Regions from separate parts of the Homo sapiens genome. Here regions 2 and 3 are each linked to region 1. Evidence: promoter capture Hi-C in 16 types of primary human blood cells and fetal thymus (Javierre and others, 2016). All regions are on one chromosome and are shown on one strand. Each heading gives the region's core, a stretch centred on a gene start or on the middle of the fragment in contact. The rest is flanking DNA. Distances are from core to core; before and after follow the strand shown. Region 1 holds the start of YY1 (YY1 transcription factor). Region 2 overlaps LINC00523 (long intergenic non-protein coding RNA 523). Region 3 has its middle 14 kb from the start of LINC00523.

Region 1 (4,789 bases), core at 1,385-3,884:
GTCTCGAACTCCAGACTTCAAGTGATCCACCGGCCTCAGCCTCCCAAACTGCTGGGATTACAGGCGTGAGCCACCGCGCCCGGCCAAAACCATGACTTTTAGTTCCAACATGATCAGTATGTAATCTCTTGAGCTACCAAAATACATGGAAATTATCTTTTGATAACCATTAAGTACTAAAGTATTCATGTTTCATTTAAACATAGTTTCTGCTAAACTCAAACTGCTATGAATTCTACAAGGCACCCTGGATGCAGGACAGCGCCTGTTAGCACCTTCCTATTAGATTTTGACAGCTCCTAGATCCCTTTGCTCAGGCCTCTTTCAATCACAGATCCACCCAGCTGTAGTTGTCTCATCTTGAGGCTTTCACCAGATACAAACTAGCTTTTTCAGTCCAGCCTTTTCATTTCTGTTTCATTCATTCCTCCGAATTTTAACGATCTTTTAATACTCAAAGGTCACCATATTTTGAGTCTCCATTCAGTTCTGAGAATTTATGAAGCTTTAAAGTACTTATAGGGAAGAGGTTCCACCGCTTATATGGAGTACTAAACGTAATCATCACAGGCATTAGATTAACTACGATGGCAGGATTATTCTCAGTCTATTTAGTATCTCAGCAATTTAGCTAGGTAGCATATGAATATACTAATAGGATACTGACCTAAAAAACCAGCATTGAATTAATAATTGCCTTTGAAGTAAAAACAGATTTTACACAGGCAGATAAGATCCTTTTGCTCTAGATGGTTTTCAGGCCTTCGTTAAAAGTAGTATTAAAACAGTAAAACAAAACTCAAAAAAACCCGCTTTCTATTATCGTTCTTTTCATGGGGAAAATAGATACCTTTCTACAAAGTAAAAACCATAAAGGCTTAAAATTAAACTACCCGATTTTATTTACTGGCAAATGTCCACAGTTGAGTAAACTAACCCAACCTATTCAGAAGAGCTAAATACTTGAGGGAAAAAAAAAAAGCTTTCCCAAAACGTAAGTGACTAAGAATTATTCGCTAACATTCACAGGCCCTTTCCACTAGGTACCGCAGGAAGGCGAAAAGGCCAGGAATTCGCTGGCAACGGCGGTGACAGGCTCCGACTGACGCTCGGAGCCCGCACACGCGAGCCCTACGTGCAGCCCCAAGTCCCGCCCCGCAGCAAACGACGACTTGGGCGAGCGTGACCGCCGGGGCAGGGTCCAGCCCGGCGCTGGGTGGGCGGGGAGCAAGGAGGCCGGAGGGCGCCCACGAGTGCCAAGCCCCCTCCTTCTGGAAGGTGCCACCGGGGAGCAGTTGGGAGTCCGGGGAAGTTGGGGGCGGGCGGGGCAAGCGCCCGCGGCGCCCTCCAGCGGCCGATGGGGTAACGGCAGCGCCGGGCGGGGGCGGGGGCGCGCGTCCCGGAGGCAGCAATCCCTGGCCCGCGAGGCCGCGGCGCAGCCCCGCCAACGACCTCCCGCGTCCCGCCCGGGCCGGGGGCGCGCAGCTGCCGCCACAACGGGCCGGCGGGCGCGCCCGTTGATGCGGGCGCGGGGAGCGAGGGCGTCGGGGAGCGAGCGCGCCGGCCCCTCCCCCGGCCGTCTCCGCCCCGCGCGGCGCTTCCCCCTCTCGGAGAAACTACGCCATTGCGGCCTAGCCGGGCGGCGCCGGCCCCTCCCCCCCGCGGCCTGCCGCCATCTTCGCGGCCCGCCGCCCGCCGCCGCCGCCGCGCCCCCGCCGCCGCACGGCCCGCCATCTTTTGGGGCCGCCATACTTGCCCTGGCGAAGAAGATGGCGGCGCCCATCACACACATAAAACATGGCTTCCCTTCAAAACAAAAACATCCCGGGGCCGGGGCGCGCGGCCGGCGCTCACCTGAGGACCACATGGTGACCGAGAACTCGCCCTCCAGGGTCTTGATCTGCACCTGCTTCTGCTCCCACTTCTTGTTGCCCGGGTCGGCGCCGCCGCCGCCCGCCGCGCCGGCCCCGCCGCTGAGGTAACTCTTCTTGCCGCTCTTCTTGCCGCCGCCCTTCTTGACGCGGCCGCCTCCCGACGACGACGAGCCGCCGCCGCCGCTCTTGCCGGCCGCCGCCACGGTGACCAGCGTTTGTTCAATGTAGTCGTCGTCGCCGCCGGCCGGCGCGGGCACCGGGATGAGAATCTGATCCTCGAAGCCGTCCTCGGCGCGCAGCCCGTCCGAGTCGTCGCCGCCCACCACCTCCTCGCGCGTCTGCACCAGGATCACCTCCTGGTGGTGGTGCACCTGGGTCGGGTCGTCGGTGACCAGCGGCTGCAGAGCGATCATGGGCGGGTGGTGGTGGTGGTGATGGTGGTGGTGGTGGTGGCCGGCGTGCCCGTGGCCGCCCCCGCCGCCGTGGTCGCCACCGCCGCCGTCCTCGTCGTCGTCGTCCTCCTCCTCCTCCTCGCCCACCACTGTGGTCTCGATGGTCTCCACCGGGATGGTCTCCACCTCGATCTCGTGCAGCTCCACGATCTCGGCCGGCATCTCCGAGCCGTCCGTGGCGATGTAGAGGGTGTCGCCCGAGGCCATGGCTGAGGGCTCCGCCGCCACGGCCGCGGCGGCCTCGGCTCCTCGGCTGCGGGCGGGCGGGCGAGGAGGCGGCCGGCCGTGGGGAAGGAAGGCAGAGGGAGGAAGGCGGCGAGCGGGCGGGGGGAGAGGGGGCGGGCGGCGGGGGAAGGGGCGGGCGCCGCGGCGGCGGCGGGGCTTCCCCGCCTCCCTCGCCTCGGTGCGCCCGCGCCCGCGCTCGCTCGGCCGCTGCTCGTCTCGGCTCCCCGCCTCGCCTCGCCTCGCCGCAACCGCCCGCCCTGGCCGCGCCTCCTCCCGCCCTCCGGGCCGGCGCTCCGCTTCCCCCTTCCTCCTGCGCCTCCGCCTCCTTCCACACAAATACCAACTCCTCAACCCGAGCCCAGATCTCGCCGCCGCCGCCACACTCTGCTCGGGCCCGGCCTCGCGAGACTTCCGCGCTGGCCTCAGCCCGCCCCGCCTCGCTGCCACTCGCCCGTTCGCCCTCTCGATTCTCCTCTCGGCCAATCGATCTGTCCGCTGGCCTCCGCGGCCCCGCCCACTCGCCGGGCTCCTCCCGGATTGGGGCCGATGGGACCGGGGGCGGGGCGGCTCGCACGCGCCCTGGCTGGCCCGCGGCGCGTGACGTCAGCGCGCCGCCGCCGCCGCCACCGCCTCCCGCTTCCCGGTGTCGCGCGGCTGCCGCCCTTCGCGGTGCAACAGCCACAAAACCCGCCGCCTCGGGCCGGGGCCGCACTCGGGAACGGGGCGTCGCCGCTACAGCCGCTGCCTTGGGAGCCGGTGAGCGGTCCGCGCGGCCCCGGGCACCACGGGGGCGGGAGCCTGAGGAGAAGGGAGGGAGGGGCCGGCCGGGAGCGGGGTTGAGGCGGGTGGGCGGCCCGGGGGCCGCGCGGGGAGCGGCTGGCGCGTGCGGGGCGGCCCTGTCGCCCCAATAAAGTCTGCTTTGACGAGAATCGCCTGTGCTTCCTTTTTCGCGTCGGGAGGTGTTTGTTCTTGTCGCCTGGCTTCGGGCGAGCGATGGCCGCGGGGTGAGTGTGGAGGACCGAACGGACAAAATCGGGCGACGCGGGCAGCGTCCGGTATCTCGCCGCGAGCGCCCGGCGGGGTGCGGGGCCGAGCGCGGGGTCGGCGCGAGCTCGGCGGAAGCGCCCGCGGAGCCCCAGGGCCACCGTTGGGAGGATGTCCGTTATTCTTTAGTGACCCGCGGAAACCTGAGACGCAGCCGTTGGGTGCCTGTTTCCCCGTAGATCTTAGAACTACAGGGTCCTGGCGGCTTTCTAAAATTTTCTCCTGAGCTTCCCCTTCTTTGCTCTCCAGTCAGCCATTGTTTCCCTTGCCCACCCTTTCCCCCTATTTGTCACTTTCATAGGTGCTCCTTTTTACGCCCACCAGGTTTTGCATTTGTCTCATTTAAAATTCCAAATTTTTTCAGCCGTGTCCTCCATTGTACCTGCAACAGAGCCTAGATTTTTTTTTGTGGCACGGATTAGCGGCAAGTTAAACCTTCCTGAATGAGTTACATTGCAGCGAAGTGTTTCTGCTCTTATCTGTCCTTTTGGTCGACCTGACAATTTGCCTTAAAGCAAAACAAAGATTTCCTGATTTTTAAGGAAACTATGACAAATTGAAGAGTTGGAAAGGTGTGTCTTTGTTGTACTCGTTTGGCCGATTTAACGCCTCTGTGAATTTGTTCAACTTAAATATTATCAACATTTACTGTTTTGTAATAGTGTTCATGCAGTTGAGGCCCATGATTTTCTGAACTGTACGCAATACATTAATCTTAGGCTCAACTTGTTAAAACAAGTAGACTATACATTCTCATTAAAAGGCAACTTTATAAATCCTAGTCCCTTCTTATTGCTAAATCGCATTGGACTTGACTTTTGAGAATATTAGTGTAAGGAGTGACAAATTAGATCGTTTTCTCTTTGAATCTGAGCTTTGAAACCTGAATAATTCCCCTTGGAGTACTGCACCCACTCAGTTTGGAAAAGTCAAATCTGTTGAATTAAGTCATCTCTGGCTTTATAGCTTATAAACTCTGCATAAATATTTCATGAATGGAAACCAGTTGTGGGAGAACTTTTACATGTCTTAATGCTTTTTAAATTTCACTTTCCCCACTCTCTAGTAATTGATGGGGAAATGGCACTGCAAGTAGTTGATACTTCCCCATAAACACCAATTGTGAGAGCAAGAGAAATGAGGGAATTACCCATTAAGCATCCTGGTTTCTGAGCTGTAGATCTGTAGGTGTTC
Region 2 (4,789 bases), core at 1,570-4,069, 420 kb before region 1:
CTCCCTCTCTTCCTCTTGCAAACAGTTGTTCAAGGTCTGCTGTGTGCCAGGCATTGTCCCGGATGCCAGGGCTGTGAAGACACATCAGAACGGCCTGCCAGGGGAGACAGATGCTGGGGCAAATGCTCCCAGGGCAGGGTGGCAGGAGCTGGAACCGAAGGGAATTCAGGATGCCATTTAGACTACAGGGTCACAAGGAGGAAAAGGATGTCTCTTTGGGGGTGGGGTATGGAGAGACGCCACAGACAAGGCAGAAAGTCTTTGTTTTCCTGGGGCCCCCAGCACACAGCAGGAATGGCTAAAAGCCTAGAGGACACAGCAGAGCTTCCAGCCTGTTTCTTGCTCGTCTCAGTCATTGAAACTCCTCAATTTCATGATTGTACCAGCCCACATCTGTTTATGCGCTCATCGGAATCCGCGCTGACAATGTATTTGTTTAATTTCCAGCAAGAAGGGGAAGATTTGTCAGGGTCAGGGATACGTCTTGCATAAAACATTCTGATTAAACTCTGTTGGCCAGAGAATTACTTTCCCATCATACTTAGAGAAATCTAGTTGTTTCCTAATTGGAGTCGCTGCCTCGCCAGCGTGTTCACCATTTACAGTTCACTCTCTGCCAGATGTTGCTTGATTGTAAATTCCTCCCCAGAAGGGGGCCCCAGGTGTCTTGGGAGAGGTGCTAACTGGCACAGGCCATGGGAGGCCTCTGCATGCTGAGCTGGAGGAGAGCCAGTGTCCTAACTGGAGGCCGGGAAGAGAACGTCCTTGTCTACAGTGGCCGAGGGGGGTGGTTATTAAAAAACATGGGACCAGGGCCAGGTGCGGTGGCTCATGCCTGTAACCCCAGCACTTTGGGAGGCCGAGGCTGGTGGATCACAAGGTCAGGAGTTCGAGACCAGCCTGGCCAGTATGGTGAAACCCTGTCTCTACTAAAAACACAAAAAAATTAGCCGGGCATAGTGGCACACACCTGTAATCCCAGCTACTCAGGAGGCTGAGGCAGGAGAATCGCTTGAACAAGGGAGGTGGAGGTTGCAGTGAGCCGAGATCAAGCCACTGCACTCCAGCCTGGGTGACAGAGCAAGGCTCTGTCTCAAAAAAACTAAAACAAAAAAACCATGGAACCAGCAGAGTGTCTCAGCATCATCAGCTGTCTGATAGGTGAGAGCCCACTTGGAGCCAGAGATGGGGAGGGCTATTGTGCTAGCTTGCTGAGGGCTGAGTCGGTCCTTGGCCTTGACAGAAGGGGCCGGCAGAGGGGCACTGCAGGAAGCCAGCAAGCAGGAGGCCTCACTCAGCCTTGGATGGGGCAGAGAGATCGCCAAGAAGGCGCAGTAAGGAGCTGTCTGCCTCCCGAGAGGGTTTTGGGTGAGGACAGACTTTGAGTCTGTCTTGAGGAGAGTGGGGGGGAAGCAGGAGGAAGAATGGGGAGCCACCACTTACTCTATGTCTATTGAATGCCAATTCTTCATATATGTAGCAGTCCTGCTAAGTAGTGGTTATTACGCCTATTTTTCAGATATGGAAGCTGAGGCTCGCAGAAGTATAGTGGCTCATCTGGAGTCACAGCCAGAAAACAGAGGCACAGGAATGTGAACACAGGACCCAGGATCAGTATACCTGGAGCCTGGCCCACCGCACACAGTAAAAACCACAGGAGGGCAGAGGAGGGGGAGGTCACCACAACCCTTGGTGCACGACCACCCACAGGAATACAGAGGTCTCTTTTCACTGTGCTGGCATGGCTCATGATCAGTCAGTATACAGGAGACACAGACCCTCCCACAGTGCCCCTTCCACGTTCACAGCAGACATTGCTAATCAATCACAGCATGCCTCCAAGCACCAACACCAACAATCAGGGTTGGTAGACTGGATGGACCAATTCGCCATCCTGGGCTAGTTCTTTGATTTTAGTGGCTGAACTGTTCAATGCAGCAGCCACGAGCCACATATCGTTACGGGGTGCCTAAAATGGAACTCACATCTAAAGTGCATTTAAGTACAAACAGCATGTTGGATTTCGAGACACAGTCTAACAAAAAAAAAGTAAAGTATCTAATAAATGTCGTGTTGATTACATGCCAAGATGATACTATTTTGGATATACCGAGTTAAAGAAAATATAACACTAATTTCACTTTTCTTGTGTACTTTTTAGAAATGTGGCTTACGTTCGGTTTCCGTTGGACAGCGCTGGTCTCGAGTTCAAGCTGTGCCAACAGCGCCCCTGGTGGCCGAAGTGGGTAAATTCATCTGACCAAGGGCCTGTTTTTCTACTGGAGACCCTGCGCAGGTTACTCCACGGTTCTGCACCTGTTTCCTCATCTGTGAAATGGGGACAATAATAGTTCCTATCTCATAGATTGCAATTCAGGAATAGATGAGTTAAAATATGGAAAGTATGTGAAGCAGCACCTGGCACCGTAATAAACGCTGAGTGACAGTTGGCTATGTTTTTATTATAGCATCTTGTTGACTGGGAGGTAGATTGCAGGCCCTTTTCTCTCCTGGGCCTCCCGATCTTGGCCCCACTCCAGAGCAGCCTCCACTCCCCAGGAGAGATAGGAGCTGACGTCCATCAGGAAGAGCACAGCTTCCTGCTGTGTACACCGGAAGAGGCCCCACCAGGCCAAAGCCATGAAGCCATCACTGGAGCCACTTCCTGTGTCTCACTAATAAGCTTCCCCATCACCCCTCACTGGGGTTCTGGTTCCTACCTGAGCTCTTGAACCCTGAGCCCAGTTCAAATCTCTGGAGTCCTCAAAGCCCCCGACACTCTTGCTGTTCCCTGACTCTCCCCACAGCATGGTTGCTGACACTGATCCTTCCAGGAAGCTGCTTAACTCAGTCCCATTTCCCAACAAGCTCTGAGAGTCATTAAAAATAATAATAGATGTGCCTTTGCAGATATAAAGCAAGAATGGCTAGTTGTGGCATTTCTGCAAAGCTTAAAAAACACAGAAAAATTATTTTTAAAAAAGGAGGGGGGAAAGGCTTTTGTAATTCCACCACCAAGAGTCAGCCACTACTTACTATCTTCCTAGCTCCCTTTCTAGAGCAGTGCTGTCCAATAAAAATGTAAAGTGAGGCCGGGTGCAGTGGCTCACACCTGTAATCCCAGCGCTTTGGGAGGCCGAGGTGGGAAGATCACCTGAGGTCAAGAGTTCGAGACCAGCCTGGCCAACATGGCGAAACCCTGTCTCTACCAAAAATACAAAAATTAGCCGGGTGTGGTGGCATGTGCCTAGAATCCCAGCGACTCAGGAGGCTGAGGCAGAAGAATCGCTTGAACCTTGGAGGCGGAGGTTGCAGTGAGCCGAGATCACGCCACTGCACTCCATTCAGCCTGGGCAAAAAAAAAAAAAAAAAAATGTAAAGTGAGCCACATAAGTAATTTCACAATTTCTAGCAACATGTTTTGAAAAGTAAATTTCACCTGGCTCTTAACCAGGTGAAATTAATTTTAACAATATATTTTATTTAACCCAATGTATTCAAAATATTATCATCTCAATGTGTAATCGATGTAGAAATCTTCACGAGATCGTTTACATTCTCCTTTTGTACTAAGTCTCTGAAGTCCCGTATGCTGCTTGCACTCACAGCACCTTTCGATTTGGTCAAACTGCATTTCAAGTGTTCAGTACCCATGTGGCTCATGGCTGCTATATCAGAGAGTGCAGGTCTAGGGTGCTTTTTAAAGCAAATGGGCGAGTGTTGAGTGTGACAATGTTGGACTGTCAAGGCCTGTAGAGTTTGGGACCCTGCTAGTCCACACTTGCCCCTGAGCCTTGCAATAATGAAATCCCTTCCTTCCTCAGGGCCAGCTGCTCCATGCACACCATATAGAATCTATACACTCTTTCCCAAGAGCTCCATGCACTATTAGGTGGGGAATCATTGGATGTCAGGAAAAGAAAGGGCAAGATAGCTCCATGGTGCCCTGGGTCGACGATGGAGAAGCATGCCTCTGAGAGCCCTCCAAGGTTAAGAAACAGGGAGTCCCCAGCACCCCTCAATCATCCTCATTCACATTGCTACTGCCCCGTTTTCCACACTTCAGTTTCCTCGGATTTCGTACTCCAGGCAGAAGCTCCAAGACGCCTAGTACTTCAGGTTTGACATCCTGCCAGCTTGGGCTCCAAGCAATGGGCTCCCCGTACATTGCGAACCGCGTGTCTCCCAAGATGAAAGACTGTAAAAAAAAGATAAAAATAGTTCCCGGGAAAGGGACTGCTTCAGCTGGCCCAGTTTGTAGAGTCCCTGTTTCATCTCTGATGTGAATAATTCATCTCTTCTAAAGTGCTGCTGTTAAGTTAGGAGCATCATTATTGCATTTTTTTTGATGAGGCACTTCTTAAAAAATCATAAACACCCAGCACATTAAGAGGAGAGCCTGAAGTACGTCATTTAGAGCCATTTGCTCAGGCAGAACCCAGCGCTTGTGATCCGTGCCGTCAGCTTGTTCCCTAAGCTGACATATCAAAGCTGCCTTTGGTTTCCTCCTTTGCTTAGACTAGGGAGTATGACCTTGCTTCTTTTGAAGAGTTTGCAGAGGTGGCCCTGGAGAAGGAAACAGTCCGGCCTGGGAAGCAGGCGGCCGGAGGGCTGGCCCTTGCTCTCTTTGGCCTCTTCTCAATTACCTTGTGAAGACAAGCACAAGTAAACAACTCTGGAGTGAGGCCAGCTCAGTATACATTCTTGAAGAAGCCGAAGGGCACTGCGATATGAATAATAATATGAGTAACAGTGACTCATGCCACCATTAATTGATCACTTACTACAT
Region 3 (4,789 bases), core at 1,276-3,775, 400 kb before region 1:
CTCCCAGCTCCGAATCTGCCCTGCATTGGCTGTTGTATTAAAAAATGAGCTGGTGCCTTTGTGATTTTCTTTGCCTGTCGACACCACATTAAGCTTTGTCAGCAGAGGGCGCTGGAGAGACAGGACAGGAGGCAGGGATTTTCCCTCCTGGTACTGGGCGGTGGCTGGGCAGACTCCTGCAGTGTGGGCGGCCTCTCCAGCAGTGCGGTGAACGCAGTTGGCAGCTTCCCTCTGCTCTCTCTAGGGTGGGTTTGTAGCAGATATCTCCTCATGAACAGCCTCCCCAGCACCCTAAAGGGTGGATTTCCAGCAAGCTCTGTTGGTGCAGCCCACAGCCACATCCACTAAGCCACAGCTGTGCCCTCCCCACTGAGCCCTGGTCGGGGGAGGGTCTTCCTTGGCTGCTGTATCTCAGAACTGGGGTAGCAACTGCTCCTTATGCCTGCAACCGCTAGGTTCTTTCAAGTTCCCTTCACTCCTTACTGCCCAGTCCCTCATTACTGCAGAGCCCCGTTATAATCAATAATCTATCAACTTGCCTTGATCAGATTACTGTGTGGATTCTGTCTGCTGTCTGGAGTCTGGCTGCTACACTGAGCTGAAAACCAGGAAGTTAGGGCATGGCTTAGAATGATTTCAACTGCAATAAGTTCTCCTTAAGAGGTAACTGTGTGCCGGTCACCGCACCCCGAGATACAGCCATCAGAGGTGCATGGTCTCTGTCCTGGCAAGTTTACAACCAAGGGGGATAGACAGTCACTAGGCAAAGTGTCACAGGCAAAGATGTGGCTGCACTAGAAAATGTCCTATAGTGTTAAGAACTGTGAAGCAAAGTTAAAAGGGCAATTCAACGCAGTGGCCATGGCTGGGAGTGGGCAGCAACTCTGGGGGGTGTTCAAGGAAGGCCTCTGTGTGGAGGTGACGTTTGAGCTGAGACTGAAGAAGTGCAAGGAAAGACCGGGGCGGAGGGATCATTCCTGGTGCAGAAATAGCGATTGCAAAGGCCCCGAGGTGAGCATTGATCTGGCCTTTTTGTGCAACAGAAAGAAGACCAGGAGTTCCAGGAAAACAGGAGGAGGAAGTGGTAGAGAATAGGTCTGAGATAAGACAAGGGACAGAGGATGGGGGCCTTGCAGGCCAGAGCAGATGTTATTTGAAGTCAGTAGAAAGTCCCTGGAGGGGTTTAATCCAAATATGCATAAAGAACGATTTTTTAAACGTGAAGGTTCCCTTTAGTAGGATGGGGGGAAAGTGGGAGACATTGCACCCCATTAGTGCTGTATTGCAGCACGTTACCGTGGCTATTGCTGTTATGGTGAACACCTTGTGCATGTTTTGTTCCCACAGTCATTAGCTTTACAGCTCCCTCCTCCAGGCAGTCTTCTCAGACCTTCGCTGGCCAAGCTCATCGCCTCCTCTTTGCTCTGCAGTTCCACCCCAAGCCTCTTGTGCTCTCCCTGGCTGTTCTCACTCATTCACAGTGTAGACATCTGTTTCCTGGTCAGTCCCCTGCCCCTTCCTGTCTCTGCCACTGGGATGCCACCCACTCAGTGAGGACAGCATCGACCAGCACACTGAGGTCAAGCTAAATGAGGCCGGGCACAGTGGCTCATGCCTGTAATCCCAGCACTTTGGGAGGCGGAGGCGGGTGGATCACTTGAAGTCAGGAGTTCGAGACCAGACTGGCCAACATGGTGAAACCCCATCCCTACTAAAAATACAAAAATTAGCCGGGCATGGTGGTGTGCACCTGTAATCCCAGCTACTCAGGAAGCTGAGGCAGGAGAATCGCTTGAACCTGGGAGGCGGATGTTGCAGTGAGCCGAGATTGTGCCATTGCAGCCTAGGCGACAGAGAGAGACTCCATCTCAAAAAAACAAAAACAGACTAAATGAATACAGCTGACACTATACCTCATACCAGGAATGTCCAACCAAAACAGCAGAAATAAGACCCTGTGAGACAGGCAGGGTGGCAAGTGCTCCTGTCCCCATTGTACAGAGTAACAAGACCAAGGTCCAGAGAGGTGCTCAGGGTCACACAGCACATGGGTGGTGCCAACTCCAGGGTCAGTGCCACAGCACTTGGCCTCTCTGTACCTCCTGTGTAGGAGCAAGGCACACAGCTCTCTTGCTGGTGCAGCTGGGGAAACCGAGGCCAAGTCCCAGACCACCCAGCTAGGGGGAGCGTGTGCCTCTCACTCTCAGGTTGGTGTGACTGAGAGTGACCAGGCACTGGGCTGGATTGCCAGGGCAGGGGAGGGCAGGTCAGGCTGTCTCTGGCCAAGAGGGACGCAAGGGCTAGAAAATCATTACAGGCGGATGAATTATTCACAGTGCCGTCAACCTCCTCAGGCCCCGACTGCGCTGAACAGCCCAGCGCATCTTATTACCCATGTGTGATGGCCTCTTTCTCTGTCTCAGAAGAAAGTGATTCAACACCATCAAATATTAATTTGGGGCGGCAGACACAGTGGCCACTCACATACTGGCCCTTCAACACTGCCCCAGCAGTCACAGATGACGCCAACCCAGGAACCAGAGATGTGGCCAGCAGGGCCCAAGAGGGCACAACTTTCCTCCAGCCCAAATCACAAGGCCCCCATGCAACAGCCTCAAACCTCAGTCCATAACCTCAGGCGCACCGGAAATGCTACTTACTTTGTTTTCCTAAAATGGAGTTTCATGTTGATTTTGCACACTGTTCTCAGTCTTGGTTTGGGGTCCCTGTCTCTACCCCTGGTCCTTCCCGGGGCTAAGGATCAGAGGAGCCCTGGGGTCTGTACTAGTTTCCCGCAGCTGCCTTAACAAAGTGCCACAGACTGAGGGGCTCAAGCAACAGAAATCTATTCTCTCAGGGTTCTGGAGGCTAGAAGTCTGAGATTGAGGTGTTACCAGGGTCACACTTCTCTGGAGGCACTAGGGGAGGATGCTGTCTGGCATCCAAGTCTGGTAACTGTACTCTCTGAAGTCTGGTAACTGCTGGCAACCTTTGACTATGGACAGGTCATCCCCATTTCTGCCTCTGTCTTCATATGGCTTCTCCTCCCCAGGTGTGCCCCTGTGGCCTCTCCTCTTCTTTTCTTTTCTTTTTTTTCTTTTTTTTTTTTTTTGAGATGGACTCTTGCTCTTGCTCTGTCACCCAGGCTGGAGTGCAGTGGCGCAATCTCAGCTCACTGCGACCTCTGCCTCCCAGGTTCAAGTGATTCTCTTGCCTCAGCCTCCCGAGTAGCTGGGATTACAGGTGCCCACCAGAATGCCTGGCTAATTTTTGTATTTTTAGTAGAGATGGGGTTTCACCATGTTGGCCAGGCTGGTCTTGAACTCCCGACCTCAGGTGATCCTCCCTCCTCGGCCTCCCAGAGTGGTGGGATTACAGGTGTGAGCCACTGCACTGGGCCTCTCTCCTCTTATAAGAACACCAGTCCTTGGATTAGGGCCCACCTTATTCTGATATGACCTCGTCTAACTGAATGACATCTGCAATGCCCCTGTTTCCCCCAGGCCTGTCTCTCCATGTCCCAGGTCCCCCGGATTGGAGTTACCTACTCATGTGCCTGCCCCTCAGGGTCACCTCCCTGGAGTGGGGCCCAGCTCTCTATCACCAGCTTCAGCCCAGGTAGGGGCTCCAACAGTGTAAGCTGTTATCAAGATCAGTTTGCTTCCTAGCCCTTCCTCTTCTGCCCTGGGCCCCCCACACCATCCTCATGCCCCTCCACCTTGAGCCGGCCCCTGCCCCCTCAGTCCTCCCCCTCTGGTCCTCATTCATCCTGAGCCCAGGCCCATGACCTCAATGCCCCCGGCTTCTAAATAATGACACCTTCCACACCCTCATCTCCTCCCTCCTCCCTAGTCCCCTTCTCCCCTGGCCTGGGCTGGTGACTTGGTGAGGAGGATACAGGGATGAGTCTGGAGCTGTCCAGAGGCCAGTGGGAGCAGCTGATCTGTAAAGAGACAGCACAGGGCGCTGCGGGGCCAAGGGAGCCTGAGGAGTACAGCGTGGGGTGGTCAAAGAAGGCCTCCCTGAGGCTTCATGGGAGGGCTGGACATAGCCAGGAACAAGGAGGGTGTCCGGGAGCAATGGCTGGAGACAGAACCGCTGCCAATAGTCAGGTGTGTCTGTCTGCAGCACTGAGGGCTTTGAAGTCAGGCTGGGGAGGGAGCAGGGCGGTCCAGGGGAGCCCCCATGCCCAGCAGGCAGGGCCTGGCCAGATCTGCACTACATCCAAATAAAGGCAGCGCTGTCAGGCAGCTGAGATGCAGCGGGGACTAGAAGCAGAAGATGCAGGGGGAGGAGAGCTGAGGCCCAGCAAGTCGCAGTGGTGTGGCCACCAGGAGCTTAGCCTCAGAGCCAAACTGGCCAGAAGCCAAGGTCAGCAGCCATACATCTCTGGCATGAGATCCTGTGCAGATCACTAACGCCTCATGCCTCAGTTTTCTTATCCGTAAAATGGGGATAAAGAAGCAGTTTGAATGACACCTGGTGCTTGTTAAGTTCTTAACAAGTGTTACCAACTTCCCTTACTGCTTGTTATTAATTACCTTATTAAATCCTCCCAGCAACCTGTGGGAGTAGCCCTCATTAGCCCCATCTACAGTTGAGGAGACTGACTAGCAGAGGGAGTGAGCTTCCCAGAGTCCCTGGGAGTGCTGAGCATTTCCTTCATGCCAGCCACAGGACTGTGTCCTCTCCGCCCAGGATTGCAGAGCAGGACAAGGACTGTGTCCTCTCCGCCCAGGCTTCCAGAGCAGGACAAGGACTGTGTCCTCTCCGCCCAGGCTTCCAGAGC

What was found. Contacts are between HindIII fragments. The CHiCAGO score rates a contact against its expected background, and 5 or more counts as called.
Region 2: a fragment that was not itself captured here is called in contact with the fragment with the promoter of YY1 in region 1 in 1 of 17 cell types (megakaryocytes); the score reaches 5.7 in megakaryocytes.
Region 3: a fragment that was not itself captured here is called in contact with the fragment with the promoter of YY1 in region 1 in 2 of 17 cell types (monocytes and neutrophils); the score reaches 8.5 in monocytes.

Annotation. Positions count from the first base shown.
Region 1 is chr14:100,236,989-100,241,777 of GRCh38, reverse strand. YY1 (YY1 transcription factor) reads right to left here and starts at 2,634. Exons shown (of 5, transcript NM_003403.5): 1 at 1,855-2,634. The coding sequence starts at 2,533. It overlaps YY1-DT (YY1 divergent transcript), which reads left to right and starts at 3,157. Exons shown (of 2, transcript NR_189150.1): 1 at 3,157-3,307. RefSeq lists silencers at 1,033-1,712, 1,983-2,032, 2,523-2,592, 2,743-2,822, 2,883-3,482 and enhancers at 1,723-1,882, 2,720-3,572. The HindIII fragment of the contact is 3,842 bases long and covers 985-4,789 here.
Region 2 is chr14:100,660,908-100,665,696 of GRCh38, reverse strand. All of the region lies in intron 1 of LINC00523 (long intergenic non-protein coding RNA 523), which reads right to left. Among named protein-coding and RNA genes, the nearest start is that of LINC00523, 6.0 kb to the right of the region's middle. RefSeq lists an enhancer at 3,976-4,789. The HindIII fragment of the contact is 267 bases long and covers 2,686-2,952 here.
Region 3 is chr14:100,641,231-100,646,019 of GRCh38, reverse strand. No RefSeq gene overlaps it. Among named protein-coding and RNA genes, the nearest start is that of LINC00523, 14 kb to the left of the region's middle. RefSeq lists an enhancer at 345-845. The HindIII fragment of the contact is 4,860 bases long and covers 96-4,789 here.